Regions from separate parts of the Homo sapiens genome. Here all the other regions are linked to region 2. Evidence: promoter capture Hi-C in 16 types of primary human blood cells and fetal thymus (Javierre and others, 2016). All regions are on one chromosome and are shown on one strand. The core of a region is centred on a gene start or on the middle of the fragment in contact, and the rest is flanking DNA. Distances in the headings are between cores, read along the strand shown. Region 1 holds the start of COMMD8 (COMM domain containing 8). Region 2 holds the start of ATP8A1 (ATPase phospholipid transporting 8A1). Region 3 overlaps RELL1 (RELT like 1).

The links. The method cuts DNA at HindIII sites, captures the fragments that hold promoters and counts their contacts. A CHiCAGO score of 5 or more calls a contact.
Region 1: a contact is called between the fragment with the promoter of COMMD8 here and the fragment with the promoter of ATP8A1 in region 2, in 2 of 17 cell types (naive CD4 T cells and non-activated CD4 T cells). The highest score is 6.1, in naive CD4 T cells.
Region 3: a contact is called between a fragment that was not itself captured here and the fragment with the promoter of ATP8A1 in region 2, in 1 of 17 cell types (fetal thymus). The highest score is 6.2, in fetal thymus.

Annotation. Positions count from the first base shown.
Region 1 is chr4:47,461,206-47,465,207 of GRCh38, reverse strand. It overlaps COMMD8 (COMM domain containing 8), which reads left to right and starts at 1,506. Exons shown (of 5, transcript NM_017845.5): 1 at 1,506-1,622. The coding sequence starts at 1,557. LOC107986277 (a long non-coding RNA gene) reads right to left here and starts at 1,325. Exons shown (of 3, transcript XR_001741683.3): 1 at 1,257-1,325. RefSeq lists a silencer at 1,516-1,775. The HindIII fragment of the contact is 2,743 bases long and covers 1-1,882 here.
Region 2 is chr4:42,654,873-42,658,427 of GRCh38, reverse strand. It overlaps ATP8A1 (ATPase phospholipid transporting 8A1), which reads left to right and starts at 1,323. Exons shown (of 37, transcript NM_006095.2): 1 at 1,323-1,603. The coding sequence starts at 1,555. ATP8A1-DT (ATP8A1 divergent transcript) reads right to left here and starts at 905. Exons shown (of 1, transcript NR_186688.1): 1 at 81-905. RefSeq lists enhancers at 887-1,096, 2,087-2,136 and a silencer at 1,127-1,596. The HindIII fragment of the contact is 6,451 bases long and covers 1-2,328 here.
Region 3 is chr4:37,681,760-37,685,820 of GRCh38, reverse strand. All of the region lies in intron 1 of RELL1 (RELT like 1), which reads left to right. Among named protein-coding and RNA genes, the nearest start is that of RELL1, 2.6 kb to the left of the region's middle. RefSeq lists an enhancer at 2,998-3,047. The HindIII fragment of the contact is 2,505 bases long and covers 548-3,052 here.

The sequences.
Region 1 (4,002 bases), core at 257-2,756, 4.8 Mb before region 2:
GTTCCTCAGCAGGGGTAGTCAAGCATGCAAACTGAGATCACCGTTTCTGGCCTCAGACCAGTGATTTTGTAACTACTATCTATGTGACCTTACAAAATATATTACTTCAAGTTCATTTCCTCATCTGTAATACCCACTGTACAAGGCTGTAGCAGGAATTAGTAAGATAAAAATATATGAAGGGTTTGACATATAGTAGATGCTTGAAAGTACTTTTCTCCCAATTATTATAATACATAAAATTTAAGTTTTTTTCTCAAAATAGACCTTACCCATCATTAGATTTACAGAAAGACTCAGGTGAAGTAGTTTTCCAGACTTCTCATTTTAACTATTACTAGGGGAGCTCCTATTCACAAAGTATCTTAAGACAATTACATTTAAGATAGGGCAATGAGTGTTGTGCATCTATCTGCATTAAGAACTAGAAAGTGGTAAATAAGTGAGGGACAGCTAAAATATCATGAAAACTCACGGGAGAAAGAAATTGACTTCACCTTTTAGAGTTGAGGCACACAGAGAAAGGACGTAGGAGGTAAACCTAGAATGCTGCTAATGAGTAGTTTTTCTCTGCGTAGCCCATAGATTGAATACTTTCTCTTCTGCTTCACCATTTTGCACCACTTTTATTATTAAATTTATAAATTAGATTGTAATTCCTGTTTCTGGTCTACTAGTTATTATTATCCGCTTTTGCAGGACATGCTCATTTTACCACCACTGAATTCTTCAGCACCTGATTAAAGTAACAGCTGTAATAAGAAATAACAGAAAGGATATTTGGACTTTGAGCTTAGTCCAACATTAATAGCATGGCTCTTGAGTCTGATTGATTTTGTTTAACTTCAGACTGGGCCTCTTACTTAGGTCAGTGATTTTTAGCGTTGCCAGATAAAATACAGGACACCAGTTAAATTTGAATTTCAGATGGACAAATAATTTTCAGTATAAATATATCCCATACAATATTTAGGGGATACTTACAACAAAATATTATTGTTTATCTGAAATTTCACATTTAACTGGACGCTTGGTATTTTCATTTGCTAAATCTGACAACCTTAGTGACTTCTCTAATCATGTTTGCTTTCTGCAAATAGGGCTGAAAATAGTACCTTCTCCCTAGGATGATCTATATACAGAACGTTGCTCATGGCAAAACCTTAATTTACCTTGCAAATCAGGATACTTTAGTAGAGACTTCTGTTAAAACTCTGGGACAATGACCATGCCCAGGCACCCAAAAAGATGGTTACCTTTATTCGACGGTTTTCTAAAGAGCACAGAGAAAGTTCAATAGAACCCTAAACAAAGGTACAAACTGCGTTGAAAGATACGTAAATGTGCCTTTAATAGCACAAGGGTATCTTAGCCACATCACTGCAAACTGCAGTCTCCCTGGTTACGGGGAAAGCGGTAGTTCGGTCTCTGCGCAAGCGCACAGGGACTTCTTGGGTCCACGCCCCTCCCCGCCGGCGAGAGTCACGTGGGCGAGTCGTAGCTTTAGACAAGCGGCCAGCCTTGACACGTGACCCAAGCCCCAGCTTCGCGCAGGGATGGAGCCGGAAGAGGGGACGCCCTTGTGGCGGCTGCAGAAGCTGCCGGCCGAGCTGGGCCCGCAGGTGAGGGCGGGTACCGGGGGAAGCGGCGCGGGGCCTGGGATTCGCGACAGCCCGGCGTGCGGATCAGGCCGGGTGCGACCCGGACGCCTTCGCAAGCTCCCTAGGGAAGGGAGGAGGAAGGGGCGTGATTTCGGGTGGTTGGTCCCCGCCTTCCCTGGGGAGCCTAGGAGGACAGCTTGGGGCGCCACCCCCAGCCTAGAGGTGCAGCTCCAGGGGCTTTGCGCGCAGAAGCGCCCACACCAGACTGGGCTTTGAAAGCTTAAGTCGGTGTTTGCTGCCTCTTAGTATACGTTTTCTTAATTCATTCAACACATAACCTCCCAAAGGCTCCCTACCTACCGGACAGCAGGTACAGAGCTAGGTGCTGGAATACAATGTGACAAAGACCGAAGCGGACCCTGCCTCCCCCCTTGAGGGTGGTTGGTAGGAAGAGAAATAACTGGGCGAGTTACTTTAGTTAGGATCGTCCCAAGAGGTGATGTACCCATTGACTTCCAGTCTGTAAAAGAACCTGGCTTGTAAGAATCTGGAAAAAGCAACCACATTCATTTGTTCAGCCAGTTTTTCATTGAAGTCTACCATAGATTGAGCGCCCCGATGGGATGAGGTAAATGGTGAGTGAGACACAGCCTGTGCCCTGGTGGAGCATCTTTTTTATAAGTCTCAATTTTGGCTTCCTGTTTCCTCTATTCCATTTATACTGGAGAAAGTGTGGAGGAGACAGAAAGGAATGAACTTACCTCCTGCCAGGGTCAAGAAAAAAAAACACCTAATTCTTTTCTTTGTTTTTGCAAGTGAGGAACCTGAAATGTCAGCAGAAATTTTGGCTAACTTGCCCAGGATTGCCCATCCAGTTAGTGGCAGAGCTGGAACTTATGCTCAGATCTGTTGATTCTGAGTGTTTTATTGGCTTTTGGCTCTCCTTGTCTTCACTCTACCCATTTAGATAAGGCCCATAACCTTTATTACCATATATGTCGATGACTTCTAAATCTTTAGGTCCAGCCAAAAATTTCTTCCTCTATGGTTCAAGAATGCCAGGTAAAAAACAAAACAAAACCCCAAAAACCCCAAACCAAAATCTCTTCCCTGAGTGTCAGGCTTCTGCCACAGGTACCTCAAATTCAGTATGCCCTTGCCTCAGCTCTTCTTTCCCCCTGGACCTACTCCTCCCGTAGCCTCATTTTCGGTTTGTGGCACCACCACTTTCACCCAGCCCCTCTCAACCTGACGTTCTAGGTTTCATCCATGGCCCCCCCTTTTCACATCTCTTCTACCTCTTTACTGCCTCCATTTTGAGTGTCCTCAACAATTTAAGCCCCTTAATCTTTAACTCCTTAACTGAAAATTGAGGCATCTGGGCTCACCCTCTCTCTTACATCTTCCAACCTGTTAGCAAATATATGGAAAAATAATGCAAATGTGTGAATAGGTTGCTTCCCGGTTGAGCACAGATTGAAGTCTAGGCTCTTTTACTTTGTACACAAGGCCCTTTTTGATTTGGCTCCACCCACCTCTCCAGCCTTGTCTCCTGTCACCCCCTAGGCACCCCCCAAAATAACTTGCTTGTGTCTAGAAATGCACTTCTTCTCTCCTGTTTTGCTTGGCCAACTACTCATCCTTTTAAGATGGACTTTTCCTTGCTTCCTCTCTGTGCTCCTTCGTACCTTGTATATATTTTTATTATGGCCCCATCATTCTAAATTACATGTATTTGTATGTTTGCCTTTTTCGAATGGACTAAAGCTCTGTTATGGTAGGGCCTTATTTATTCTCAGTTTCCTCATTTGTAAAATAGAAATAATAACAATGGTTACTTCAGAGTTGTAGTGAGGATCAGTCCAGAGTGTGGTACCTAGTTAGGGATCCATAACGGTAGCTATTATAGTTTCTTTGCCATTAAATAAAGTCATTTCCATGACCTTTGTCATTAAATAAGGTCATTTCCATGACTTTATTTAATAACTGGGATGAAGTGTTCATTACATATTTGTGAATGAATAACAAACATATTCCAAAAAAGATAATGCTTTTATTTTTCAGTTTGAGTTCTGGGTTTTTTTTTTAGCATGGGGACAGTATAGGATAAGGTGTAGAGAATTTTGAATGGATTCAAAATTGAGTATGTTGATTTATGGTAAATAAAAATTCAGTTTGTATAGTATATTAGCCACCATTTGGAAGCAGTTGCTTGTGTTCTGGCATGTGTGGTGTTAGAGGGAAGGAGTTATTAGTTAAAATGGGGTGGAATATGATTATTTCCAAGTTATTTGGTTCAAATACTCCTCTTGTAAGATACAAATAACTTCAAGAAAGATAACCTTATTAAATGTTAAGTGCTTAGAATAGTACTGGCATTGTGTTATCTCAGTTAATAGAT
Region 2 (3,555 bases), core at 74-2,573:
TGCCTGAGTATTAATGTAGGGCAGGGCTCTGATTAGCAAGTGCTACCTGCAGGAAGCAGAAGAAATACCACAAATGGAGATAGGACGCTATTAGCAGATTTTATTTCATTTTTTCCTGAGGCTTGGAAATAATCACTTCTCTCTCAGGTCAAACCTCTCCAGCTCTCTCCCTTCAGGATGTGAAAAGATCTCAAATAAAAGGCCTCTATGTGAGGATCTCTTTCGCTGGTTGCTGGAGGAAGAGCATGAAATGAGGGAAGAAGCAAATTGCTTCTGATTTATTGTTTCTGGTTTATTCCTTTCCTGCCAGTTCAGCAGCTCGCCAGAAACAGCACAAAACCTTACATCTTAACTTGAAGGTGAAGTATTTGTTTTGACAACTTTTTAGCATAGATCTCGGTATACAAAATAAAAGGTAATGAGGCTATGATAGTCTGAAGGACATCGGCAAATTAAAATTTAACATATTTATGGATTTTATACAAAGACTCCTCTCCCCTTTGCAGATAAAACGACTGCATCCAACTTTATGCAGATTTAACTAAAAGAAAAAAAAAAAGTCTTTTGTGAACCACCTGGGCCAATACTTAGTTGGCTTAATTGCTATTTCAGTGCCTTGTCAGGCTGCAGAGCCTGAACTAGGGAGATGCACCGGGCCCACTTGCAGGCGGGGCCCAGATGCACCCAAGCCCCATGGACAAGAGCACCATGGGCACCAGGGGCCTCCCGACCTGGCAGCCTGTTGCTAGTGGGCGAGGCAGGAGGACAAGTGCGGCTCAGGCCACGAGTCGGGCTGGGCGTGCAGAGAGGTTAGAATTACACCCAGATGGCGAACAGTCAGTCGTTCCTTTCCTGCTCTGGCTGGGAGCTAAACCTTGTAGTCCCAGACCCTTTCGCCTTCGCCTGCCGGCTCAGACCCAACAGCTCTTTCCGGACGACGGGCGGCTCCACTGCGATCAAAAGCCAGGGGTAGCGGGAGGGGATTCGTGAGAATGCAGCAGCCAGAGCAGTCTTTCCTTTCTGAGCAAGATGTGAGAGAGTCCGAGTGGCCTGGAGGAGGAACCGGGTCAACCAACTCCACAGGGCGGAGCGAAAACGCTGGAGGACTAAGGAGGCTAAGAGTTGATCCCCCCTTTGAGTCGTGATACGGTCCGAAGCGGGGCGGGGCGGGGCGAAGGAGGCTCCCCCTGGCTCTCCCCGCCCCTCACCCGCCTTCCTTGCTGAGCGGCCGCGGGAGGGGGAGCGCGAGCCCCGCAGGCCCCTCCCCCGGCGCCGGCGCCCGAGCTCCGCCCCTCGCCGAGCCGCCCCTCCGCGGCTGCAGCAAGAGCTCGCCCAGCTCTGCGGGCGCCGCCACCTTCGCCGCCACCGCTGCCTTTCTCCTCCTCCTGTCGGCGTGCGGGGGCCGCGCCCGGCGGCAGCTCTGCCCTAGGTGGGCGGCGGCGCGGCCCAGGCTGCAGCTGAGCGCTCTGCGCGGCGCAGCCGGGTCTCCCGCGTGTACCACGCCGTGACAGGTGCAGAGTCCGGGCTGAGGACCCACCTGCAGCCGCCGCCGCGATGCCCACCATGCGGAGGACCGTGTCGGAGATCCGCTCGCGCGCCGAAGGTAAGGGGCCGCCGAGGCTCGGGGCTAGCCCGGGGTCGGGAAGCGAGTGTGTGTGTGAGCGTGTGTGTTTATCCTGGAAGAGACCGCATCCTACCTCTTCCCCGGCGGCAGTCCGACTGTCGCGCCCGGCCCCTAGGGGACCCTTCCCCCCGCGCTGCCCCCAGTGTACTCGCAGACCCTTTCCAGGCTCCAGTACCCTCGAATGGGTGTTCTCCGCGGGAGCCCCGAGGCGTGCTTTGCACCGCAGTGTGACCATTAGGTCCCAGTCACTGAGCTCACTCGCCCTGCCCACCTCCCTCCCCACCAGTTCGATTTCCACTCAGCAGATCCCCAGCCCGCCGCCCCTGCCTCCGGCGCCCACCGTTTTGCAACCCCCTATCTGAGCTCCCAGCGAAGCGAGTTTGCTTTTCCCCGGCTGCAGGATCCTTTGATCCGTAGTCCCTTGGCTCTCGAAGCGCGGGGAGCCTTCATCGGGGTCGGGTGCCGAGTGGGTTCCCTGCATTACAGCTTCTGCAATTCTGCCTCCTGCAGCGGAGTCCCACCGGCTCGCGTCTGAGGTTTCGTTTTTGTGTTTCCCTTTTGCCCGAAACCCTCACTTCGGCCAGCTGAGCTGACTTTTCAGCCAGGTGGAAGCTGTTTTCTTTGCTCCACCTGGGGCCAGCTCTTGAATGGCCATGGTTGTCAACACTGAGCAACAGATGCTCCGGGGTAGAAGCAAGTAAGCTTTCCGAGGGCCCAGACTCTTCATCGTCTCCGAGGAGCCCTCAACATCCTGCCTGCCATGTGGCAGGCACTCTGTAAATATTATTTGATTTTGCTCGCGTCAAAGCCAAGACTGTAAATATCCCAAGGTTTGTTTGTCCTCTCCCATAAACCTGTACTTGAATCCTGCAGAGGGTGGAATAACATGTTTTTCAGAAATCTATCTTGCCATCATCGCTGATTCCCACTCTTCCTCCCCACCTCCATCTTTTAATGTGAGACAGGTGGTGAAGTGGTTTTAGAAAAATATATAAGTTAGGAGAATTGGATTTCAGGGATGGAGACAGGCCATTTTTTCTCCTTAGGGGCTCCCTGTAAAAATAGGGTCCCTGAAATTTTCTGATTGCAGTATTTAGGAAATATTAAATGAAACTGCTGTGGGGAGAAGACGAAGCAAGATTCAAAACTGGCCTGTGTACTACATAGGAATTCGGTACATGCTGTCATTTGTAATACCCAAAAAATACTTATATAGGGCATTATAGTTTTACATACACAGTTGAATACATTATACTTTTAAAATGCACACTGTAAAAATTCATTTTTTTTACACTTCTGAGTGAAATTAGTCATAGAGATAGTGAAAGTAGAATGGTAATAGTTGGTGGTGTTCTTTTAAATAATAGCAATTGATGGGTCCTATATTGTGGGAAATAAGGGGAAGAGAAAAAGTCTGAGAGCACTGCAAAACCTGTGGCATGTGAGGGGATTACAGGGCTGCAGTATTGTTCTTGATTGGCTTGTGTATTTTCCAAAGTACTTTTACAAAGATTACTTTATGGAAACTTACAACACTCCTGGAGGTTGGTGAAGGTGGAGTGCCATCTGATAGTTGAGGAAACTGTGGCCCATATGGTTTAGTAATTTGCCCAAGGTCAAGTAACTAGTTCAGTGACACATTTGGATTAAGAGCTCTGGGAAAACAAGGACTGCTGCTTGTTTAATCTTTGTATTCCCTGTGCGTCCAGCACAGTGTCAGGGCCATAGTGGTGCTTGGTGAGTGAATGACCCTTTCCCCTGAGATTAGTTGATTCCAGTTTATTATAGCTTCAGCATGTGCTTGGGACTGTGGTGAAGACAAATAATGACTCTGTGGGGCTGGCGTTGTGGCTCATTGCCTGCTCTGCCCACACTTTTCTTTCCTAGGAAATATTTCTTTCCTAAAAAATATAGTCCTACCTTTCCTAAGG
Region 3 (4,061 bases), core at 551-3,050, 5.0 Mb after region 2:
GCGGAAGATCGTGACACAGAGCACCGGGTGCGCTGTCGGCGCCTCCTTCTCCCTTTTAAATACCTTAAAATATCCTAAAACCTGGAGGACTTTGAATCTCTTTCCACGTTTCCATTTATTTGGGTGGTTGATGGATTCTTGTAACAGGTCAAGGAGTCCACATTTCTTCCCATATATCCTGTATAAATCAGGCTCGGAAAAAGGGAAGGCGCGTTGGTAAACTTACATTTTTTTCTTCTTTTTGTTGATTCCTGTCGTCACGAAAGGAACCTTGTGTGGTCAGGGCAGGAAGCCACCAACAGAGATGCTAAAGTGTCACCAACGATGAAGCAGTTTTTAATTGAAATCAATCTTAAGAGGAGGTGTAAGTTTTATGGAAGTCCTATGTCACATCCTTGCTTTTATAATTACAGACACTAGGGATTCCTTACCACCGCTTCCCCTCTTAATTGCCACCTAACAGCTGCAGTTAAAAAAAAAACATACTTACTTGGCCATTTGGGGTTACTACAGCTGGGAATCTGACGTCAGCAAGCTCTTCCAAGCTTGATTTCAGCGGTGGTTCCTCCTCAGGCCCAAATAATAAGCAACTGGAAGCCTTTCAACAGTGACTGTCTCCTCCATAAACATCCATAAACTCTTCCTCCTGAGAACATTTCAGTCGCTTACAACTTTTACACTGACTTAGCAGTTTGGCCTTCACTTTTTCATAGAAACCAGAGCAGGTTGGAAGGGAAGGAGATGGATAATATTGTCTCCTGAGTCTTTTTAGCAGGCCCGTATTTCCGTTAGCCATCCACCTGGGGAAATGGCAGCTAGTGACATGTTTTACTGGATGGGACAATTTTTTTTTTCTTTTCCTTATTTTGATACAGGGGCTCATTTTGTCACCCAGACTGGAGTGCAGTGGCACAACCTCGGCTCACTGCAACCTCCAGCTCTCTGGTTCAAGTGATTCTCCTGCCTCAGCCTTCTGAGCAGCTGGGATTACAGGCATGTGCCACCATGCCCGGCTAATTTTTGTATTTTTAGTAGAGATGGGGTTTTGCCATATTGGCCAGGCTGGTCTCGAACTCCCGACCTCAAGTGATCCTCCTGCCTCGGCCTCCCAAAGTGCTGGTATTACAGGCATGAGCCACCATGCCCTGCTGGTTCATTTTGATTTTCATCCTGCGTTTGATTGCTGGGACACATAGGTGCATAATCAGGTTCCACTTGGATGTGAGGTTGGAGACATTCATTAGAGGGTTAGAGTCAGTTGCAACAGAATCTGGGGAAGAGTTTAATCTGGGAGTAAAATTATTAAAAATTCAGCACATGATGCATGTAATTAGCCATCATCAGCAGGAGAAATCCATCCCTAGAGTGGGTGTGTGTTTGGTTTGACCTCTGAGCAACACCCAGGTCTCAGGACTAGAATGTGACTGATGAAAGCTCTCATCTAATTGCATGACAGCCTTTTTTTTTTTTTGATGAAAATTAATGCGGAAGAAGAAACAGGTGTCTAAAAAGGAAAGGATACAGAGCACAAATTTGCCAGTATCTTGAGGCGTGTGTAAAGAGAAGATGCTCTGACCAGCCAACATCTGATCCCCTTGCAACCAAAGATGGTGTTAATGTTTGTACCTTGAGCATAGGGAAGTAGAGGGAAAGGAATGGGAAATACTGTTGAGTGCCTGCTGTGTGCCAGGCTTTGGGTTGAGTACTTTGTATGCATTTTTATTTTTATTTATTTTTTTCTTTTTGAGACGGAGTCTTGCTCTGTCGCCCAGGCTGGAGTGCAGTGGCGCGATCTCACTGCAAGCTCCGCCTCCCGGGTTCACGCCATTCTCCTGCCTCAGCCTCCAGAGTAGCTGGGACTACAGGCGCCCGCCACCATGCCTGGCTAATTTTTTATATTTTTAGTAGAGACGGGGTTTCACCGTGTTAGCCAGGATGGTCTCCATCTCCTGACCTCGTGATCCGCCCACCTTGGCCTCCCAAAGTGCTGGGATTACAGGCGTGAGCCACCGCGCCCGGCCGCATTTTTATTTGTTTATTTATTTTTATTTTTATTGTTTTTTGAGACAGAGTCTTGCTCTGACTCCCAGGCTGAGGTGCAGTGGTGCGATCTCAGCTCACTACAACCTCCACCTCCCAGGCTCAAGCAATTCTCCTGCCTCAGCCTCCCTAGTAGCTGGGATTATAGGCGCCCGCCACCATGCCTGGCAAATTTTTGTATTTTTTAGTAGAATCGGGGCTTCCCCATGTTGGCTATGCTGGTTTGTAACTCCTGACCTCAAGTGATCCGCCCTTCTCGACCTCCCAAAGTGCAGGGATTACAGGTGTGAGCCACCGCGCCCAGCCTTCATAGGCATTTTTAAACTCATTGCTCATAACCCTGTGAAATACTTACTTCCAGTAAGGCAACTGAGGCAAGAGAGGTTAAACAACTGGCTGAACATCACATAGGTACTGTGCCAGTCAGCATTCAGAGAAGCAGAACCACTAGGAGGTGTCTGTGTATGTGTGTACCTTTATATGTATCTTTATCTGGGATAACCCAGCCTGCTTGATTCCAAAGTTCATTCCCTTTCCACTGTACCCCACTGCTCTGCAGAGGAAAAATAGAATATGAGTCAACCTCTGCAATCTCGCTGAGATTCTAAGATAGTTTAGAACGTCATAAAATTGTAAGCATGTGGTTATCAGAAGTTGTCAAGTAGAGAAAAGAAGGGCAGATAGCTTCACGGTGGGTAGTGGCAATGCCTTTTTCACTTCCTTCCTAGTAGAAGAATCTCATTAAACTTGTCTCTTAGCAGCAGCATTCGAAACTATATACCACAAGCACCCAAAGGGATGATTTTCCACGTCTTGGCTTATTAATGTCCTTAAGTTCTCTGGTTACTCAACCTTCAGGTTTATTAGTTTCTCTCTCAGACAGTGGGCATAGCCCTCGAGTAAGGAGTGGGTGGAAGAGGTCCTGGGGCTGGTGAGATGAAAAATGCATTGTCCTTGGGCTGCAGGCTTCCCTCCAGCATTCTGACTCCTTTTTAGAAACTAAAGATAAGCTTTATTAAATTCTGGGGTCTCTCTTAGCCAGGTAGCTGCGAAGCTGTACATCCACATAATATATAGTGTTTGGAAAGTTTTGAAAAAGCACACCTTGGAGCTTGGGAGTCCATATCTACATTTAATTTTAAAAGGAAATGAAAAATGTGAGAAGTCTCTGTCAATTCCCTGCCCCTACCCCCTCTAAAAATGGAAATGAAATGAATCTATTTGGAAATTTGAAGAGTTGAATTTGAATGTGAGAGACCAAAGCCCCAAGTGAACAAACAACAGATTTTATTGTTTCTTTAAAAATGATTCTTTGGCCCTAATGTTGAAGTTTAATGACTTATTGAAACAATAGAGAAATGATTTAAAGCTGACAAAAAGAATAAATTAAATTGTCATTGGTATAAACTATTAGGTTGAGTGGTTCCTAATAATTTCGGACACTTAAGTGGTTGTAAAGATTTGGTGTGCTGCTGAAAGCGGGTATATTAATAATTCTGGTGTGATTTATAAAAACTAAAATCAGAATTTGGTGTTAGTACACTGTAGACACTTTACTCTTTTAGGAAAAAGGAATTCAATTTTTATTATTACCTGGTTTGTGTGCAGGCGGTAGTCTAAATACCTAGATCATTTCATTCTTACAATTAATTTCCTGTCAGTTATATACATAATTTTATTCCTGTGTTTGTAGATGAGGAAATTGAGCCTCAGAGAAGTTGAAAAAGTCACTCATGTGTAAGCTGGATTTTGTCATGGAGTCCATTGAGTCAGATCTGTTTGATTTTGAAGTCCATGCTTATTATTACTAAACTATTTTTTTGAGTAAGAAAATTCTTTTTATTCTAACATATTTGTAAAGAATCAGTAAGTAACAAGGTCATGGGATGCTATGGTGGAAAGAGCACCAAGCCTTAAGTCAGGGCCTTGGACTTGAAGTCAAAAATCAGAAGGAAGCCGGGTGCAGTGGCTCACGCCTGTAATCGCAGCACTTTGGGAGGCCAAGGCGGGCAGATCACGAG